Linked DNA regions of Homo sapiens: regions 1 and 2 are each linked to region 3. The links are contacts of gene promoters, found by promoter capture Hi-C in blood cells and fetal thymus (Javierre and others, 2016). All regions are on one chromosome and are shown on one strand. Each heading gives the region's core, a stretch centred on a gene start or on the middle of the fragment in contact. The rest is flanking DNA. Distances are from core to core; before and after follow the strand shown.

What was found. The method cuts DNA at HindIII sites, captures the fragments that hold promoters and counts their contacts. A CHiCAGO score of 5 or more calls a contact.
Region 1: a contact is called between the fragment with the promoter of SENP7 here and the fragment with the promoter of CMSS1 in region 3, in 3 of 17 cell types (total B cells, naive B cells and fetal thymus). The highest score is 8.2, in total B cells.
Region 2: a contact is called between the fragment with the promoter of CRYBG3 here and the fragment with the promoter of CMSS1 in region 3, in 4 of 17 cell types (naive CD4 T cells, total CD8 T cells, activated CD4 T cells and 1 more). The highest score is 6.4, in naive CD4 T cells.

What each region holds. Positions count from the first base shown.
Region 1 is chr3:101,511,373-101,515,032 of GRCh38, reverse strand. SENP7 (SUMO specific peptidase 7) reads left to right here and starts at 1,821. Exons shown (of 24, transcript NM_020654.5): 1 at 1,821-1,942. The coding sequence starts at 1,903. The HindIII fragment of the contact is 4,750 bases long and covers 1,054-3,660 here.
Region 2 is chr3:97,820,137-97,824,152 of GRCh38, reverse strand. CRYBG3 (crystallin beta-gamma domain containing 3) reads right to left here and starts at 2,142. Exons shown (of 22, transcript NM_153605.4): 1 at 1,798-2,142. The coding sequence starts at 1,946. LOC101929298 (a long non-coding RNA gene) reads left to right here and starts at 2,377. Exons shown (of 3, transcript XR_427389.3): 1 at 2,377-2,466. RefSeq lists a silencer at 1,996-2,365. The HindIII fragment of the contact is 1,453 bases long and covers 1,312-2,764 here.
Region 3 is chr3:99,816,344-99,820,015 of GRCh38, reverse strand. CMSS1 (cms1 ribosomal small subunit homolog) reads right to left here and starts at 2,154. Exons shown (of 10, transcript NM_032359.4): 1 at 1,973-2,154. The coding sequence starts at 2,036. HP09053 (a long non-coding RNA gene) reads left to right here. Exons shown (of 3, transcript NR_110821.1): 2 at 1,042-1,096; 3 at 1,544-3,384. LOC105374010 (a long non-coding RNA gene) reads right to left here and starts at 2,154. Exons shown (of 5, transcript NR_189163.1): 1 at 1,973-2,154. RefSeq lists enhancers at 1,888-2,197, 1,429-2,303 and a silencer at 1,719-2,473. The HindIII fragment of the contact is 550 bases long and covers 1,743-2,292 here.

The DNA.
Region 1 (3,660 bases), core at 572-3,071, 1.7 Mb before region 3:
ACCACGTGTGGCTAGTTTTTTTCTTTGTAGAGAGGAGGTCTCACTATATTGCCCAGGCTGGTATCAAACTCCTGGGCTCAAGGGTGAGTCATAGCATCTGGCCTGTATATTTTTGTGGAGAGGGGGGTCTTGCTTTGTTGCCCAGGATGGTCTGGAATGTCTTGGCTCAATCTATTCTGCCTCGGCCTCCCAAAGTGCTGGGATTACAGACGCGAGCCACTGTGTCCGGCCCAGCTTGACTTTAGAATCAGTTAAGTTCTTTAGTTAAAAAAGTTAATTTGGGCCAGGCGCAGTGGCTCACGCCTGTAATCCCAGCACTCTGGGAGGCTGAGGCGGGCGGATCACGAGGTCAGGAGATCGAGACCATGCTGGCTAACATGGTGAAACCCCATCTCTACTAAAAAATACAAAAAATTAGCCGGGCGTGGTGGCGGGCGCCTGTAGTCTCAGCTACTCGGGAGGCTGAGGCAGGAGAATGGCGTGAACCCAGGAGGTGAAGCTTGCAGCGAGCCGAGATTGTGCCACTGCACTCCAGCCTGGGCGACAGAGCGAGACTCCGTCTCAAAAAAAAAAAAAAGTTAATTTGTGAGGAAACTGAAAATTCAATTATTTTTCAGAAAGCAATGTTTTTGTTAAACAGAAATTAACCAAATAAAACGAAATCCTTACAGTAAACTTCAATCCCAGCAAGACTTAAAGTATTTCTGCTTTGCAGTCATTCCTGCCATGTAGAACACTTCCCCAGGCCCAACACCCCACAACACCTGGGGCCTTACCTCTACCTGGGGACTGACCACATTATAATTAAGAAGGCTTAACTCACGATGAAGGGGACTGCTCTAGTGGACGAGTTGGGCCGATCCCTTTATTGACTCCGTTAGGATGGGAGATGGGGGTTGGAGGGATAGGCGTTAGGGGTATAAAGGGGCCAGCTTGGGAATCAAACCCTACTTCCAGAGTCCCTTCGGGCTTTGAACATGCCAGAAACATTTTCCCTGCTTAGAGCACTGTGCTGAATTTTGTTAAACTTGTGATTAAATCGTCATGAAAGCTTACACGTGCATTTAAAAATTATTCAGATATGCACCATTAGGGATAATCAGGCTAATAGTACCAGACCTTGAGTTCATTGAGGACTGGATTAGTCCCTTAAGTATCGTGGTAAATGTTAATTGAACAAATTCCAAGTTTATAGCCACCCACTTTCTGTCATATCAGCATTTCAGTTATTGAAAAATTAAGTTCTAGCTTTTCTTTTAAGGAACTTTAAAAATCACAAGTTCGAATTTTAAAAAGGAATCCTAAGACATTTTTCCTCGTCTGCTGACATATTTCCACAGCAAATGCTAAACTAATAGCTAGGCTATTATTAGGTGATTTTGCCATCTTAAAATCTTTTGGTTTCTGAGTTCGAGGAAAGGCGTTGGGGGCAAATATGTAAGAGAGGCTGTGAGGGATGTAATACTGCAAACGCTAACGTTTTGTTTTCATAGTTGTTTGGCCACCTCGCGAGATCCAGTGAACCGGAGGAGTTCCTGTTTTTCCCTTTTAATTTTTGTCAATCTAATCTTCAAAGTCAACAAAGCTAAAATCGAGCACCCAGGTGGTTCACCTCCCCAGAGGGGCTCAGATCATGAAATAAACGCCACCAAAAAAACGCTGGAAGAGGCAGCCCACAGTGAAAAGTCCCAGGAAGTGATTTCCGGTCGAAGGTGGGAGGGGCGGCTGATTTCCGGTCGAAGGGCAGGCGACGGCTCTTGCGCAAGCGCGCTTCGCACTTTGCGGGCTTTTTTTTTTTTTTTTTTTTTTTTTTTTTTTTCCTTTCCCCTCCCCCTCCCTCTCCAAGCCGGAGGGGTCCTGAGGTGACAGCGCCTGCAACTGAAATTTCAGCAGCGGGAGAAGATGGACAAGAGAAAGCTCGGGCGACGGCCATCTTCATCCGGTGAGAAAGGGTCAGAGAAGGGCTGAACATATTGTCTCCTACCCGGGGGAAACGGGAGGCGCAGGCGGCAGCTGGGGTTGCGGCCCGAAGCCGCGGGGGCGAGGGCGGGGGCGGGGAGAGGAAGGGGCGCGCACAATGGAAGGCTCCCGGGTCGCCCCCGCCCCTGGAGTCGAAGACCCGGTCCGAGCTGTCATCGAAGCCTCGGGCGCTCTTCACCTCAAAACCCCTTTTATTTTTTCCCTCCTCCCGCGAACACCCTCCTTGCGTCTCATCGGCCCATGGATCTTCCCGGTTGGCTTGTCACTCTCTGCCACGCCTTCCTCGTAATTCCACCAATGTTCCAATTTCATTTCGGCTTCTCAGCGCCTGACCCCACTTTCCTCTCTTCCTTTGATTCTCGACTTTGCGTCCCTTCCCCTCTCCCTCCTCTTTCCCTCAGCAGGTAGCTGCTGCTGGGGAGGAAAGGTGGGGCTTGCGACCGGAGACTCCTTTTCTTTGATACAATGCCTCTCCGGGTCTCGTTCTGCTGAACAGGCCCGCCTAATAGCCTTTTTCTTTTCCAGCCTACCCTGCGTCTTCCAAAAGTGATTGGAAAGTCAAACAAAGGATTTGAAGCCGTGCTTTCGTTGTGTTTTTATTTTCAGCATATTTTTTGTTTTGGACGTTACTTTGTTTTAAATGACTATCTTCAGTTTTGTGTACAACGTCTTGGAAACAAGAAAGTGGAGTTATAAAAACGTGAGGTAGAGCTCCTCCCAGTTGAGAAGTTTTTATCAAACATTTCATCCATTAGGGGGTCCTCAAGTCCTTGTGTTAAGTCCTATGGATGGTAGGAGGAGAGGACGAGGACTCATATGCTTACAGTCCAGTACACAAACGAACGCCCAATGAATCAATTATTTCATTTCATTTTTCTGTTTCTGATGGTACCGTTGGTTTCTGCAGAGACAGTTAACAATTACAGATTTATTGGCCGGGCGCGGTGGCTCACGCCTGTAATGCCAACACCTTGGGAGGCCGAGGCGGTCGGATCACAAAGTCAGGAGATCGAGACCATCCTGGCTAACATTGTGAAACCCCGTCTCTACTAAAAAATGCAAAAAATTAGCCGGGCGTGGTGGCGGGCGCCTGTAGTCCCAGCTACTCAGGAGGCTGAGGCAGGAGAATGGCGTGAACCCGGGAGGCGGAGCTTGCAGTGAGCCGAGATCGCACCACTGCACTCCAGCCTGGGCAACAGAGCGAGACTCTGTATCAAACAACAACAACAACAAAAAAAAAACAAAAAAAACCAATTCCAAATTTATTTAGGAGTGCCCTGTGGCAGTGCATCTCAAACTGCTTTCAGCCTTAATTGCAAAGGAGAGTGATTATGGATCTCTGGGGACACTGCTTGAAGCAGTTGAAAACCTGAAATCCCTTTTCATATGCAACCAATGTTATCGATGTTCTTGGTGTATATTCTGGAGATAATAGTTTTTTCCTTTGAAAGCACATGTATAAATGATATATATGTATATTTATACATACATGTAGGTATATGCCTCCAACTGATGAGTGTTTTAATAGTCTCCACCCCCCACCAAACCTCTAAGTAAAATGGACACATTAGGAAAACGCACAATGCTTAGCTGGTGTCATTTGCGGGCTTCCTAACACAGAACTTTAGGTGTGATCATATCTTCCTTTGAGATGCACAACCTTTTTTAAATAAATGCATT
Region 2 (4,016 bases), core at 893-3,392, 2.0 Mb after region 3:
GTTTATGCCCTTGAAATGAAAGATTTAAGCTCATTTAAAACAGTAAAACACCCACATAAAGGGTCATCTGCTATCCCCCTAACATCTGGCAAGTTCCAAAAAAGATGAGAACAAAATTAGCGTTGATATAAGCACAATTAAAATCTTCATCGTTGAAAAGCCATAATTTGTGCCAATCTGGAGATGATGAGAATAGAGAAGTGGTAGGTGAACAAGGAACTAGTTGCTGGAGGGGTCAGCTCCAGTCAGTAAAGAAATTAGAATTGAGAAGTGCCTTAAAAAGCCAAAATAGGGCAGAGAGGCAAGCAGGATTTCAGGCCATTACTGACATGAGCCTGAATTTGACCTGCTTACTCCTTTCTAACACTGACTCTCAAGTTCCCAACTTTTGCTGCGCCTACTTGGGATTTCCTTGCAGACTGCGTTCATATTATCCAAGACTGTTAGTGCTGTTACGGCGGTGGCAGGCACCACAGGCTGTCTGCCCACACCAACAGAACTAGCTGACACCCTGGATGAGATCTGTCAGACTTAAAAACTATTTTTAACTTCTGTGTAACTTTGAATTTTAAACTCTCAACAGTCAGAGCAATAATAGCTGAAACGTCCCAGGAGAATAACCACTCAATTATCGTAGGAGCTTTCTTGGAAACATGTGGCATGTTATTAACAGACGGTCATAATGAAAATGTTTCACAAGCGGGGAAACCGAGGAACACACAAACGACTAAAATCACATCACAAAATCTGAATACTAATGGAATTGGCTCACTCTCAGTTCTGTTTCCTATCCATTTTTTTTAAGCCCACCAGGAAATCTTGAGTCCGAAGTAAACACGGTTTTCTGGAGTGTGTCCTTCCAATGACAATGGTCATTCTAGTGCAATCTCGGGAGAAGACAGTGTAAGCCTCTCATAAGTTTAAGAAAGCGAGCTGCGTTTTACTTAACCCCTCTTTCTTCGGGGGGATGAAAAGACTCAGAAACAGGCATTTAAATGAGGCATGTCTAAAATTTTTTGATTTTTGAACATGGGAAAGTGAAGGAAAGATAAAAATATTACAGAGAAAGGGTACATTTTGATTACTGAAACCAAGACAGCTGGAAACCTGATTTCCAGAATCTGTTTGGGAACTTGAGGCAGATGTTTCTAGGAGAGATGAGAAATAAAGAAGGGTGGCGTCATTTACATGTCCAGTCCATTTTGGTGAAAGTCTTGGGAACGCATTATCACAATTCCTTTTAAAAATCATTTTGAGAAAATTTAAATAAGATGGCAAAAATACCAGCTGAGGGGGTGACGCCCCAAAGCTTTACCTTTTCCACTTTTGCCCCGATCTCCTCCCACACAAGTGGTGCTGGGATCGCGCCCCCAATTCCCCTGGCCGACGGCTCCGCTCGGCTCACAAGTGTTTCCCATTACTGCAGGCGGGACGCCGGGGAAATCGCTTTTGCCACAGAACTTGGAGAGTAGAGCGTGTGTGGAACGGGAACCCAATCACGTCCGGGCAGGGGAAAGTGGGAAAGGAAGAGCGCGGAGCCAGGCGGGGATCGGGGGATATGCGTCCGGCTGCCGGGCAAGAACTTCACCCCGATTTAACCTGCAGAGGAGAGGCGAGTAGTGCGGCACGGGAACGGGGCAAGGAGGAGGAAACTTTAGCAATGGAGGAAGGAGAACAGAAAGTGGCGAGCGAACTGCAGCCTGGCCCAAGAGCGGCCCGCTGCCGGCGGTCAGGCCGGGAGCCTTCATCCCGCGAATATGTGCAGGGCCCCCCCGCGACCCCCTCCTCGACTCCCACCTGGCAGCGGACCGGCCTGGAGCTGGAGGCGGGCTCGTCCCCGGCCTCTCCTCCTCTTCCTCTTCCTTGTCCCGGGAAGGACTTCGGGGAGCGAAGAACCGGGAGAAGCTGTGCCAGGGGGCGCTGCCCCTTCTGCGGCCGCTGGACATTTCCCGAGGGGGCCGCTGGCCCGGGGCTGTCTGAAGGGAACGGCCTAGGTGTTGCCTGGTGCCCGGAGCCCGACCGGGCGCCGCGGGATGCGGCTAGGGCAGACCGACTCGACGCGAGCTGCCAGCGCGGCTCAGTCTCTCTCGGGCAGGAGAAGTGCGGACGCGACGCGCTCCTCGCGCGGCAGCTCCTCACGCCGCTGCGGCTGCTCCTCCTCCCGCCCTCGCCCGGCGCGGCCCGCCCCACCCCGAGGAGGAGCCAGTGGCCGCGGCACCGCCCTGAGCCGGGCGCAGCCGCCACCGCTGGGGCGCTACGTGGTCCCCCGAAGGCGCCGGCCTGAGAGCCTGAGGGGAGTCGCCCAGCGTGCGACGCTAGGCTCGGGCTTACGGCTCAAACAAGTTCAGGCTGCAGCCTGTTGGGCTTTGCCTTCAATTACTTTCTGTGACCGTTGTGTTTTCTATTCTACAGTCAGAGCACAGAAACGGTTTTCTTCGGGCTTTTGAAAGAGGTTTATGAACTAAGGTTTGTGAAAACACTTGGCAAACTGCAGTACCGGGGCGCCCCGGACTTGCTGGGAGCTAAGAAACAGCTACCGCAAATACAGCTCCAACCCTGAGGGCGAAAGTCGCGTTAGCACAGAACCGGGCGGCGGGAGGGAGAAGGGGGTACCTGTCAGGCGGTCACCACCTCCCGGCGCGTTCTGCTGGCTTTCTGTGGTGTGACTTTTCCTAACCGCGCTGTGCTTCAGACTTTTCACACGCCATACTTCCCTGCGAACTCTTTCAAAAACGGCACTGATCAAAAAGTATGATTTCAAGCTTGTCAATGCTGCAACATATTTTGCAGTCGTTACACAGATGCCACTGAAATCTGGGAACCAAAGGGTGCTTAAGACTTGTTTTAAGTCTAAGTACAGTGGTATGGATTTTTCTTGGTTTTTCATACCCTATAGCAGCTAGTACAGGAGATACTGAGAGGCCCATTCACCCCAAGTGTTTTGTTTTTGTTTGAAGGCAAGCTGCCCCTGGAGTAGACGTCAAGGAAGTGATATGGCTTTTGTTCATTAAAAAATGTATACAAGTAAATGAGATAAAAATGAAATGTCCACAGCAGAGGGGAGCCTTGGAGTAATCTCCCCTCTGGCTTTCGGGTGCTGGAGGAGAAGGTTGCTCATAAGTAGATTGCATACCTATAAGCCCCAAGTCCTTTCAGCACCTGCTGGAGGCTATTGAGCCTCCCTGCCTCCCCACGCTGCCTCCCAGAAGCCCTCCAGCTCCTACTAACTGCAATAGAGCCAAGACACTCATTCTCATTTGTTCTGGCAGGATTTAACCCATTAAAGTTCAGTCAGCCCGATTTCCATCAATCGGGTTCATCTCAGTCTATCCCTCAAGATTAATCCTTTTTTACTCTTTGGTAAATTTTTCCTATTTCTCTGTGAGCCTAGTCTGAGAAAATAGAAAAAGACTAAGATAATAGACTAGAATAAGACAAGTTCCCAATTCTAGCTTTATTATTTTATAAGAGAATCTCCACTGAAGACCCACTTACCAAAAAGCCCAAAGAGAGTAATAAAGCAAACTGTTTCTTCCAGCTAAAAGGCCCAAATGATAATTTGTCTTCCCAACGTATTATTGAATGACTATCACATTTGTCCCTGACTTGTTCTGTGATCAAACCAGGCCCCAGTGCCTACCCAGAGGGTACTTCGTTCAGGAAGTTTTTCTTGGAATAAAAATGGGGGGGAGTCAATAGGATTTAATTAATGAATTATGGTTTTAACTAATAATATATCTAACAATACTCTGATCTCCACTCGGTAGCACAGCAAAGCACTTAAGTGAATGGTAAATACAAATAATGCCATGTTTACACTAAGACAAATTGCGTCTATGACAAAATAGCTTAAAGTCATAAAACAATGACCATTGAATTTTCCTTCATTTGCTTTCTGAGCACTTATTAGTTTTCTATATGTCCTACATTGTTATAACCTGAACTCATATGAACAAATTTCTAAATACTAAATTCTAAGATTGCATTAGGAAGCCTGTAAAAATGTCAAATTTTAG
Region 3 (3,672 bases), core at 905-3,404:
TTTGGGAGGCCGAGGTGGGCAGATCACGAGGTCAAGAGATCAAGACCAGCCTGGCCAACATGGTGAAACCCCGTCTCTACTAAAAATACAAAAATTAGCTGGGTGTGGTGGCGGGCACCTGTAATCCCAGTTACTTGGGAGGCTGAGGCAGGAGAATCGCTTGAACCCAGGAGGCAGAGGTTGCAGTGAGCCGAGATCGTGCCACTGCACTCCAGCCTGGGCGACAGAGGGAGACTCCGTGTCAAAAAAAAAAAAAAAGAAAAAAAAAACTGTTGGTTGGTAAAACCCTAAAAAAGATGATCTTTAAGGGCTCTTTACAGATTATGATACAAAGGCCCAGAGAAGTCACAAAGTAGTAGCGGGAAAAGCGTGACTTTCAAAATCAATCACACTTGACTAAACTCTTCCCAGACCTCTTCTTCAATGTGTGTTCCTAAGAACACGACTTAACTTTTTTCTGTTTCTTCACCTATACAAATGAAGAGAATACTTACCTTTTCGGGATGTTATGAAAGTTAAATCAATTCATATTTATGAAGACATTTGTCACATAATAGATACTCAATACATGTTGACTGCCTTTCTTCCAACGGATGAATAACTTGAAAGTCACACAGCTAGTGAGGACTAGAACCAAGAATTGGGATCCCCTTCACCACTCAAACAGAATTCAACTATTTCTTAAATGGCCTCTGTTCATCTTCAATCATATCATAAAATAGAGCTTTTTAACACCTGAGTTGGGAGGGGTAGTTATTAAAGTAAATGTGGAACACCACAGGGCTGCAAAAGAGTCAGGAAGTTTAATCAAGGAAATGTTGTATTGGCTACCTTTCTAAAAATGACATCTGCTTAGTTTGTACCTGAAGGCTTGACCTTCCGGAAACAATGCAACAAATGAAGTTGGTTATTTTTAATGGATATTTCACAACTAGTATTTCAAGATTGTTTGCAGCAAATAGGTATCAAGTGTCTAACATGTGCAGGGCCCTGTGGATGACAGAAGTATGAATCTGACTTTGGCCCTGTCTTCTCTTGTAGAGAAAAGAGGCAGACCTTGAGGAGTGATAAAAACCAACCAACCAATAATTGCATGGTAGGTGTGATGGAACTTAAAAAGTTCAAGGCTAGCCTGACATGGGGGGTCACTTAACGCTACTCTACTTGGGGATGAAATGCCCACTGCATCAGGAGTTGGTAAACACAGCAGAGCATAGTAGAAACTATTCAAATTGTGTTAACTGAATTCTAGTATTGTTTCTGAAAGGAGCTAGCTTTGTGAACTTGTCAAGTTACTTGACATCTTTAGGTTATGTTTCTCATCTGTAAAATAAGTGAGTTCAAAGGATGATCTCTATTTAAGCCTCCTTCCAGTTCTACTATTCCAAATTCCATGATAATGATGATGACCACAAGAAATACAGTAACTTATATTTACCACACATTATATGTCAAGCACTATGCTAAAGTGCATTACTGTACTAACTTCACTTAATCTTCACAACTTTACGAAATGGACATTATTGTTATCATTATTTTACAGATGAGGAAAAGGAGGCTAAACAGTATCAGAATACTGGAGTCGTGATTTGAATGGAGGGAGTCTGAAGCAGCAACCCCTGCTTCTGACCTCAGTCTGAATTGAAAGCAGTTCATGGGTCACCCTTAACCATCATACAAAGTTGCCTCTCTTCACAAAAACTGTCTTATCCATTCTCAAGAAATAAGGAAAAGAGAAAGCTTGTGGAAAGGATCCTTCCTGGCTGGCAGACAGATCTGAGTTAATGTCACAGCTGTCTGTTTCACGTGTTAAAGAATCTCTTGCACCATTTTCCCCGAGATGCTTGCGCGCTCCCAAGGCGGTGCACACCCCTGCTGGGCAAACACCGCGATCGCCAGAAGCGACCAGGGCTGAGGCGCACGGAAGGGCTCCGGGAGAGGCCCCGTAGGAGCGCGGGCACAGAGTGGGTACCTGGGCTGCTGCCTGCTCCAGTCGGCTGGTTCTCCCACCACTCGTCTCCGAGATCGTCTGCCATTTCAGCTCAGGTCTCGACGTGGGCAGAACATCACGGGTAGGCGACCAGCTGCGGAGAATCACGTTGTCTCAAAGCCAGGCGGCCGGCGTAGCTACACGCGGAGCTCCCGCTAGACACTGTCGCCTCCGCCCCGCGGCGATGACGTCACACCTCTGCCCCGCCTCTCCGGCAGCCGCTCCCAGACTCGTCGCAGTTTCCACACAGGCGCCGACAGGCAGAAGCAGTTTGGAAACGCAACATAAATCCCCCCAAAGCTTAAAGACAAAAAGGAACATAAGACGAAAGGGATTGTCATCGTTTTTGATAATGCATTTTAAAAAATTTTGTTTACGTGTTACGTTTCCCGATAAGATTGTGTCGAAAGTGTGAGACACCATGTGAAGACGATTTTTCTCCGCTCAGTTTCAAAGAACTTGCGCAGCGGGAGAAGACCCAAACATGTGCGTGTGTTTTCGCTTGTGCGTCAGTGTTTCAGAGTTTATGTGTTTGTACAGTTTGCTCTTAGAAAACATGCGCAAGGATCCATGACCATGAATGTCGGGCCTTTGTGGTAAATGTAGTTCTGCTATTTATGCAATATGAGTAAAGAAAATGTAATTGGCCTGGAAAGGCTCGCCCACAGAAAGACGCAAGTGGCTCGAAGACCCGCAAGTTGTTTTCCTCATACTCCCTCGGTTGTGTGTCCCACCCCCTATTTGGGAAACGAAGTAATAAGGGAGTCCATTGCTTCGTAACTATAGGTAAGAGACCCGCAGTGCCTCTTGTCTCAGTCCCAACGTGATTTGGCAGGGAGGGACTAGGAAAACCCGCTGGGCGCCAAGTGCTGGGGCTAGCTGTGAAGTAATTGTGGACGGTATTTTTCAGGACATCAAACACAGACGTAAAAATTATACAAAATGTAGTAAAAGCACGCAACGTGCCTGGTACTATGCATGGAATAGTAAGATGAGTCCATTCAGATGTTAGCCTACAGTAGTGGAAATTCAATTTGTAGGAATAAAGGGCTAGACTTCTAATAGGATACATCCTCGGAAATGACAAGACAGGGAAACTTAATCTGATGAGGCTAGGATTAGCCATATGTGGAAAATTACCCCGTGTGCACCCAACTCATAGATGTTTTATAAATGCATTACTGCCTAGACTTTGTCCGCACACTCTAAATGCCCCAAAAGGGAAGATATTATGTATAAATATGGCAAATGTAAAATAATCTATAAAGATCAAAAGTAATATGGCTTTTGTGAAGAAATGTAGATGACGAGATTTTCGTGATTAATAGATTTTTGAAAAAGATAAGAAATGCCAGTGTGGAAGAGGAGTTGCTATGGCTAATAAACATGAAAAGAATTCAGTCTGATTATTAATCTGGGAAATACAAAAAAAACACCACAGCGAGACCGTTTTTCAGGCAATAAATCACAAAATTAAGAAGTATGGGCCGGGCGCGGTGGCTCAAGCCTGTAATCCCAACGCTTTGGGAGGCCGAGGTGGGTGAATCACCTGAGGTCAAGAATTCCAGACCAGCCTGGCCAAAATGGCGAAACCCATCTCTACTAAAAATACAAAAATTAGCCGGGCATGGTGGCAGGCGCCTGTAATTCCAGCTACTTGAGAGTCTGAGGTAGGCGAATTG